Regions from separate parts of the Homo sapiens genome. Here region 2 is linked to region 1. The links are contacts of gene promoters, found by promoter capture Hi-C in blood cells and fetal thymus (Javierre and others, 2016). All regions are on one chromosome and are shown on one strand. The core of a region is centred on a gene start or on the middle of the fragment in contact, and the rest is flanking DNA. Distances in the headings are between cores, read along the strand shown.

Region 1 (4,520 bases), core at 875-3,374:
TCTGTGTTCAGGTGGAGGTGGAGGCGGCCGACACATCGATGGGACAGGCTTACTTGAGGTCCTGGGGTCTCTTACCTGCTCTGGTGTCCAAGGTAACAGCAGATAAGCAGAGCTGGATGCAGAGAACGGTGAATGTTGCAGAACAGATCTGGGCAGGGCGGTGGGAGGTAGGGTCTCAGGGGCACACAGGTGACGCACCTCACCCCCTCCCAGGGGATCCTGGGAGCCTAGCGACAGACTTAGACTCTTAAAGGGACAGAAGTAAAGGACATTTTCTCTGGGGTGGGGAAGGGAGTTAGAAACTGGATTGATCTAGTGGAGATGTGGCCCAAATTATTTTTTTGAAACCAGTGGTCCTGGCCCTCTACCCTCTCCTACCTGAAAACCCAGGGGTCTAGTTCCCTGGTACCTTCCTATTTCAAGTCCCCTAAGTTGTATCCCCCAGCTCCCTCCCCCCAGACTCAGAACTCCAGTCCTCTAGCTCCTTCCTTCCTCAGATTCAGGAATCCAAGTCCCCAGCCTCCTCCTTCCCCAGAACATAGGAATCTGGGTCCCTGTCCCATCCACTCTTAGACTCAGGAGTCCAAGCTTCTGCCACCACCTTCCTAGGAAACTAGGAGCCCAAGTTCCCACATCCCAAGTTTCTACTGCTCTGTAGGACTTCCAAGTTTTGCCCATCTTCTCCTCACTGTGTATAAAGGCCCCTCTTTTTAAATTTTTTTTTTTTTTTGAGACAGAGTCTCACTCTGTTGCCCAGGCTGGAGTGCAGTGGTGCGATCTCAGCTCACTGCAACCTCCCTCTCCCAGGTTCAAGCGATTTTCCTGCCTCAGCCTCCCAAGTAGCTGGGATTACACCACACCTAATTTATGTATTTTTGTAGAGAAGGAGTTTCGCCATGTTGGCCAGTCTGGTCTCGAACTCCTGACCTCAAGTGATCCACCCACCACGGCCTTCCAAAGTGCTGGGATTACAGGCATGAGCCACAGCACCCGGCTGAGGCCCCTCTTAAGAGTCAGTGTGGACTGGGTGTGCTGGCTCACGCCTGTAATCCCAACACTCTGGGAGGCCAAGGAGGGCAGATCACAAGGTCAGGAGTTCAAGACCAGCCTGGCCAACAGTTTGGCGAAACCCTATCTCTACTAAAAATACAAAAATTAGCTGGGCGTGATGGTGGGCACCTGTAATCCCAGCTACTCGGGAGGCTGAGGCAGGACAATGGCTTGAACCTGGGAGGTGGAGGTTGCAGTGAGCCGAGATAGTGCCATTGCACTCCAGCCTGGGCAACAAGAGCAAGACTCCATCTCAAACAGACAAACACACACACACAAAAAGAGTCAGTGTGAGGAGGACTGGGCTTTAATCTTCACAGCACCCCCAAACTCCTCCCAGATAAGGGCTTAGACACATCCTTAGGGCAGCTCAGGAGCCCTGTCTGTTTTCCCCTCTTCTCACTCTCTGAGGTTTTTCTGATGTGGTCTGTCACTTTTCCTGTCCTCACACCCCTGCCACACGTACCCTTTGCCATTTCTTGCCTTTCCCCCCTCCCTACCTCACCCTCGATCTTTCTGGGCCTCTCGCTGCTGTATTTATCTCTGGGCAGCTCCTTCCAGACCAGGACGTCCTTCCATTTCCGTCTGTCTTTCTGAGAGCCTTTTCTTTCCCTCCTCCATCTCCATCTGACTGTTCGTTTCCATCTCCTTCGCTCTCTTTTCTTGTTTTCTTCCTTTTCCTTTCTTTTTCTGTCGTTCCCATTCTTTCTCTCTATTTCTTCCTCGGCCACTCTGTCTTTGTCCTTCTCTTTGTGTCTCTGTTCCTCTGACGGTCCTTCCGCCAGTCTCTATTTTTAGCCCTCTGACACACCCCCTGTGTCCACCTCTCTGTCTGTCTGTCTCTCCCCCTCCCTCGTCTCAGGTCCAGCTTCTGGTCCCAATTAGTTGGTGGCGGCCAAGGCAGCGGCAGGTCCCCCACCCCCGGCTCCTCATTACCGCTGGCGGCTCCTAATGAGCCTGGGGAGGGGGTGACCCCGCGTCCCCGGCCCCCCGGCCTGCGTCACTGCCCGGTGCGGGGGCTGCGGAGGCGATATAAGGGGGCTGCCACCATCGCTGCCCCAGCCCACTGCACGGTAGGGGACTGTGCGGGAAGCTGGGGGTGGATGCATGGTGGGGCCCGGGGTTCTGGGCCGGGATGCAGCCCTACTGAGCCCCTTTCTGGTTCTCCACAGGTGATGGAGACCCGCCAGGTGTCCAGGAGCCCTCGGGTTCGGCTGCTGCTGCTGCTGCTGCTGCTGCTGGTGGTGCCCTGGGGCGTCCGCACTGCCTCGGGAGTCGCCCTGCCCCCGGTCGGGGTCCTCAGGTAGGTGCCAGTCCCAGAACTCCCAGGGAGGGGTGGGAACTTGGAGAAGTGGGAAGAGAACCAAAGAGAAAGGGGACGGAAGATCCAGAAAGCGGAACAGAAGCCCAAAGAGAGGGCGACCGAGACCCAGCGAGAAGACAGAGACTAGGGGTGGGGGAAGGCGGGAGGAGGGTTTGGTGGTAGTGGTGGTGCGGGAAATGGACAGAAAATCAGCAAGGGAAAGAGACACAGAAAGATAGATCCCGAGAAAGGCGTGGAGAGGCTCGAAAGGAGTCGTTGCAGAAACGGATTCATTCTTTGAGCAACGTTTATTGGGTTCTTGGTGTGCGCCTGGCCATGCGCTGAGCGCTGTGGGCGGACAAGTGCATCAGACTCGGTCTCAGTACCTGGGGAGTTTCGAACCTGGTGAGCAGAGAGACAGAGACCCACACAGAGAACGAGAGAGACAGGGGGAGCCGGACCGAGCCACTCCACGGACTGGGCAGTAACGGGGCTTCGAGTTAGACCGCGGGGAGGACAGGCGGCGGCAAGAGCGAGTCTGGACGCGCGGTCACCGCGTCTCTCCACAGCCTCCGCCCCCCAGGACGGGCCTGGGCGGATCCCGCCACCCCCAGGCCGCGGAGGAGCCTGGCGCTGGCGGACGACGCGGCCTTCCGGGAGCGCGCGCGGTTGCTGGCCGCCCTCGAGCGCCGCCACTGGCTGAACTCGTACATGCACAAGCTGCTGGTGTTGGATGCGCCCTGAGCGCGCTGCCCGTCCCCATCTTAATAAAGACCATGCCCTGCGCTCCGGACTGCGCCTAGTTCCTGCGCGACCTGCGTGTGCGTTGGGTTGGGGGCGCGGGGCTTGAAATGGGGGGTAGAAAAGAGACAGGACTCTGTGTCGGCCACTCTGGCATCTCTCTCCTCAGTCCCCACTCTATTTTCTTTCCTCAATTCCGTTTCTCTCTGCCTGTCTTTGTCCAGGAAGCTGGCTTCTTTCCTATTTCTGGATCTCTGCTTCCCTATCGCCCCCACCCCCCCGCCCCCTCCTTTCATTCTGGGCCCCTGTCCCTCCCTACCCCCATCTCTGTCCCCTTCTCTCTGGTTCTCTGTAATCTCCAAGGTCTCTGTCCTCCTCCGTCTCTGTCCCTTTCTCTGGGTCTCTTTCCTCTCTGGGTATGTGTCCCCGTCTCCCTGGGTCCTTGTGGTTATCTCCCCTTTCACCCTTTTGGCTTTCTGGTCTTCTGGGAATCTCTGCCTCCTCTCTCTATTCTCCTTCTGCCTCTGAAACTCTTCCTTCCCTTCTCCATCACTTTCTTTTTTCCTTTTTCCTCTGCCTGACTCCTTCATATCTTCCTTTTCTTTCCTCCGTTAGGTTTCTATCTGTCTCTCCATCAGCTCTCATCTTTGAATTTCGCTGTTCCTCCCTCCCATCACTTCCAGACTTCTCCCCAGGCACAGTGGAAAGATCGCGGGCTCTGGTGTGAGGCAGCCCTAGCATCCAAACCCAGGGTCCTCCAAATCTAGCTGCGTAGTACTGAGAAAGCCTTCTTGACGTCAGTCTCTGTGTCTCCTTTTCTTCATCTGTTACGAGGATCCAATAAGATATACTTCATAAGACTTCAGTACAGCGCCCGTTACGTAGCAAAACGCTTTTATTTGAAAAGGGTTTCCTCTTCTCACAGCAGCGTCCAGCAATTTTTTTCAGGGTTTTCTGACTTCGGGTCTCCTTCTCTAGAGACCTTCGGGGCGCCAGGCTGGGGCAGGAGAAGAGAAAGGAGCAGGCGTCAGGCTCCAAAAAGGACAGGGAAAGGGCGGGAAGATACCTGGGCTGCAGGTGAAGCGAGAAAAGAGCCAATCGAAATCTGTCTCTCTCCCCGGAGGTCCAGCCTGCCCTTCAGCTCCGCCCCTCGTGGTAACCATGGCAACCCGGTGGTCCGCAGAGGGCTAGATCAGCGCGCCTGGGGCGCCGTTCGTGCGGACCGCGCTCTCATTGGTTTAAAGAAGAGAGTGGAGCCGGCCGCGTCTGCTGCGCGGGAAGCGGGGCCGCCGCGCGTGTTTGGCAAGGCGTCCCAAAATTTGCATTTTCGGGAGGCGGACCGAGCCCTAATTGGCCCTTGGACTGTGGGGGCGGGACTGTTTCCTCTGTCCTTCCGAATAACAAAGGAAAGACTGCATTCCTCAAA
Region 2 (4,520 bases), core at 912-3,411, 280 kb after region 1:
TTGCCCATTTCCATGGTGTAAATAATCCCACCATGGCCAATTTCAAGCTACCAGTGTGATGTCAGCCAATTCCTGAAATAGCGGATCTCCTGAGCCAGTGCCAGCGGGCTCCAGCACACCACAGGAAGGTGCCCTGCTTTGAGGATGCCCCACCCTCTTCCTCTGTTTAAAAAATAGGTGGCTGGGCACGGTGGCTCACACCTGTAATCCCAGCACTTTGGGAGGCTGAGGCAGGCAGATCACAAGGTCAGGAGATCAAGACCATCCTGGCTAACACGGTGAAACCCCATCTCTACTGAAAATACAAAAAGTTAGCCGGGCGTGGTGGTGGGCGCCTGTAGTCCCAGCTACTGGGGAGGCTGAGGCAGGAGAATGGCATGAACCTGGGAGGCGGAGCTTGCAGTGAGCCGAGATAGCACCACTGCACTCCAGCCTGGGCGACAGAGCAAGACTCCGTCTCCAAACAAAAAAAAAAAAAAAAAAAAAAAAAAAAGGTAAATGAGTCTGTAATCCCAGCACTTTGGGAGGCCGAGGTGGGTGGATCATCTGAGGTCAGGAGTTCAAGACCAGCCTGGCCAACATGAGGAAACCCTATCTCTACTAAAAATACAAAAAAATTAGCCAGGCATAGTGGCGGGCGCCTATAGTCCCAGCTGCTCAAGAGGCCGAGGCAGGAGAATCGCTTGAACCCAGGAGGTAGAGGTTCCAGTGAGCCAAGATCGTTGCCACTGCACTCCAGCCTGGGTGACAGAGTGAAACTCCATCTCAAAACAACAACAACAAAAACCAAAAAACAACAAAAAAATAAGTAAAGGAAATAAATTCCTTTACCTACCCAGTCACCCAAGCAGGTCCCAGAGTGCCCTTTCCTTTTCCCTCCTCCTCCCGCCTACCTTGGCAAGCTGTGTTCCTTCCAAATTCTAAATAAATCACCAAATGAATGAAGACATGAATGGATGTCAAATGAACATACAAAGAAGAAAGAAAGGGAGGGAGGAAGGGAGGAAGGAACAAAGGAGGGAAGGGTTAGAGTGAGGTACTCACCCAGAGAAGAGCTGTCCCGGCCTGGGGGTCCCATTCGTCCCTTCTCTTTCTTGCCAAAGAGACGGCCTATGGATGACTTGATGCTCTTCTTCTTGGGGGCTTTGTGCAGAGAATCTGGGGTGCCCTCACTGGGAAAGCAGGAGAGAATGAGAGCATATGCTTGCTGAGATGCCCCCTCTCCTCCCAAGTCCTTGTCCACCCCCTTCTCATCTTCCCAAGCCAGCTTCTCCCTGTCCCTATCCCTTGTCCCTGCTGACCTTCCCCGTGGGGGTCCCCCATCTTCCAGGGACCCCGCCTGCAGTGCCAAGGCCTGGGTCATTCTCTCAAGACGGGCAGAGCGGGGAGTGGGTGGTGGGGTGTCTCCTGGGATGGCCGGCCCCTCCCCTCGTGGAGCTCCAGCTTCCTCCTTAGGGACATGATTCTGAGGACAGAGGGCACAGATGCTGGATTGAGTTCAAAGAGTCATGTCGGGGGCTCCTTATTAACTGAGATGTCTACTAAGGTGTGTGTGGGGTGACCCTGGTTTAGAACACAGTATACGAAGGTAGTCTAGCTCAAGTCAGGGTGAGTTGCAGAAACTTTTTTTTTTTTTTTTTTTTGAGATGGAGTTTCACTCTTGTGGCCCAGGCTGGAGTGCAATGGCACAATCTCGGCTCACTGCAACCTCTGCCTCCCAGGTTCAAGAGATTCTCCTGCCTCAGCCTCCCAAGTAGCTGAGATTAAAGGCATGTGCCACCATGCCCGGGTAATTTTTTTTTTTTTTTTGAGACAGAGTCTAGCTCTGTCGCCAGGCTGGAGTGCAGTGGCATGATCTCAGCTCACTGCAACCTCTGCCTCCCGGGTTTAAGTGATTCTTTAGCCTCAGCCTCCCAAGAAGCTGGGACTACAGGCCCACACCACCATACACGGATAATTTTGTATTTTTAGTAGAGATGGGGTTTCACCATGTTGGTCAGGCCTCAAAGAAAGCTAATGAGTTACAGGTTCTGGAAGCAGGAAAGCTGAATTTAAGGGAGTAAAATAGGGCCAATATCTCTTTGTCTCCCTCAAAGGTCAATTCTGAGGATCTAATTTGTAGTTCTCCAATGCATGTTGTCACAGAAACTTTTTTTTTTTTTGAGACACAGTTTCACTCTGTCTCCCAGGTTGGAGTGCAGTGGCACAATTTCAACTCACTGCAAACTCTGCCTCTTGGGTTCAATTGATTCTCCTGCATCAGCCTCCCGAGTAACTGGAATTACAGGCACGTGCCACCAGGCCAGGCTAATTTTTGTATTTTTAGTAGAGGTGGGGGTTTCACCATGTTGGCCAGGTGGGTCTCGAACTCCTGACCTCAAGTGATCTGCCCACCTTGGCCTCCCGAAGTGCTGGGATTACAGGCGTGAGCCACCGCACCCAGCCAGAAACTTTTTAAAATCCTATGCAGAAACTTGACGCATGAGAAATAAAAGTAGACCAGATCTGACTAAAGTGAAAGTTAGGGTTCAAGATCCCAGTGACTCAGCCTCCCCTTTGCCCTTTGAGTTTGAACCTTTAGGGAAAGCTGAGGTTGCTTTGGAAAACCACTGGTGTGAGGGGTTATTGTTGCTGTACACTGGGGAGCCCTGCCTCTGACCTCTCCCCATCCCCCTACTAGGCTGGGGAGACTTCAGAGCACTCACAGCCTTGTCGGTGCCCTCACGGGCAGGGCTAGGGGGTGCCAGGCGGGGTGTTGAGTGGCCAGAGCTGGGAGGGGAGGGGCTGGCAAGGGTAGAGGTGGTGAGGGAGGGGGGCAGGGAGCAGCTGCTGCGGTAGCGGCCCAACGAGTCCAAGCCAGAGCTGGACACCCGACTCTCCAGCTCCTCTGCCCTCTGTTCTGTTGTCTCCTTCTCCTCTTGGATCAGCCTGAGGAGGGAAATAGGGGAAACTGGGTGAGGGGCCGCAGCAGACAGCGGGAGAGGGAATCTGGGAGCACAATGGGCCAGAAAGGCCTGGTGGGGCAATGGGAATTCTGGGGACGGTGCAATGACGTCAGAGGACTTTGGTGGGTTTCTGAAGGCCTTCCAGGCTCAAGGAGAGTCAAGGGGTCCTGAGAGTCTCAGGAAGTCATTGCAGGATTAGGGCTATCAAGGTGATTGGGGTTTGTATCAGGGTGGCCCTGATGATAGTCAAGGGGTTTGGAAAATCATGAAGGGATTACTATGGACAAAAGGTCAAGTTCAAGGTGGCCTGTAAGAGCAAGGTCATAATAGGAGCATTGTGAGATCAGGGACTCAGGCCAATCTAGGATCTGGGAAGGGCATGGACTCATTTGGTATGGAAAGTGGTGGTCATGGTATATTTGCCGAAGGCTCATGGGGAGTACATTATAAGAGAATTGCTGAATATGGCCATTGCTGGTGAATCAGGGTAGACTTTACATCACTGGGGGCTTCTTAATAAGTTGGGGACTTTTTTTTTTTTTTTTTTTTTTTTTTTTTTGACACGGAGTCTCGCTCTGTAGCCCAGGCTGGAGTGCATGGCACTATCTCGGCTCACTGCAAGCTCCGCCTCCCGGGTTCATGCCATTCTCCTGCCTCAGCCTCCTGAGTAGCTGGGACTACGGGCGCCTGCCACCATGCCTGGCTAATTTTTTGCATTTTTAGTAGAGACAGGTTTTCACCATGTTAGCCAGGATGGTCTCTATCTCCTGACCTCATGACCTCATGATCCGCTGGCCTCAGCCTCCCAAAGTGCTGGGATTACAGGCGTGAGCCACTGTGCCCAGCCTGGAGTTGAAGTTTTTGATTAGCATGTTAGGATGAGATTCTTGGTGTTTGAGGTTGGGAACCTTGTGTTGTCTTGAGATTCCTAGGGTAGTGGGAGACTCTGGGCACTGGTTATGTGAAACCACAAAATCGATGGCGTAATGGAAGATTCTTGATGCATCAAGAGGAACTGGGCTATTTGGGGATGCAGGCTTTGGTGTGTTGGGGAATGGTGAGTACTGGCTGGGGGGTATATGTGTAGGTAGCACATAGAAGACTTCTGAGTGTATCCTAGGGGATGCCTGGACAGCGGAGTGAGTGTTGGGCTGGAAGAATTCCTTGTGGATGGTGTAAGAGGAGACGGACTCAGGCTTTCAGGCCTCCAGAGCCAGAAGGGCTGTGGAGTCAGCTCCGGCAGGGCAGGGCAGGCCGGGGCGGGGCCAGGGCTCACTTGATCTCCTTGTTGATGGCCTCCAGCTGCTCCTGAAGCATGATGGCCAGCGTCTGCACGTCAGCCTGCCCACTGGGGGACAGCAGCTCGGCCCCAAACATCCCCTCTGCCTCCTCCTCATCGGAGCCGTCCAGTTCCCCAGGGAATGGGGGTGGTATGGAGCCCGCAGGGGCAGACCGCTCCCAATCCTATCCCTGTGTGGGGACAGAGGGACATTAGGTGGCTGGGGGCCGAGGTTGGCGCTGGGTCTTGGCTCATGATCCTGACTTGCCCGACCTCACTGATGCTTTTCCCAGCCC

The links. Contacts are between HindIII fragments. The CHiCAGO score rates a contact against its expected background, and 5 or more counts as called.
Region 2: a fragment that was not itself captured here is called in contact with the fragment with the promoter of PTH2 in region 1 in 1 of 17 cell types (total B cells); the score reaches 5.4 in total B cells.

What each region holds. Positions count from the first base shown.
Region 1 is chr19:49,421,045-49,425,564 of GRCh38, reverse strand. PTH2 (parathyroid hormone 2) reads left to right here and starts at 2,124. Exons shown (of 2, transcript NM_178449.4): 1 at 2,124-2,353; 2 at 2,923-3,146. The coding sequence starts at 2,226. The coding sequence ends at 3,097. It overlaps GFY (golgi associated olfactory signaling regulator), which reads right to left and starts at 177. Exons shown (of 4, transcript NM_001195256.2): 1 at 76-177. RefSeq lists a silencer at 1,805-2,008. The HindIII fragment of the contact is 6,183 bases long and covers 591-4,520 here.
Region 2 is chr19:49,136,613-49,141,132 of GRCh38, reverse strand. PPFIA3 (PPFI scaffold protein A3) reads right to left here. Exons shown (of 30, transcript NM_003660.4): 15 at 4,222-4,409; 16 at 2,706-2,928; 17 at 1,302-1,465; 18 at 1,045-1,172. Among named protein-coding and RNA genes, the nearest start is that of HRC, 17 kb to the left of the region's middle. RefSeq lists an enhancer at 3,805-4,311. The HindIII fragment of the contact is 8,599 bases long and covers 1-4,520 here.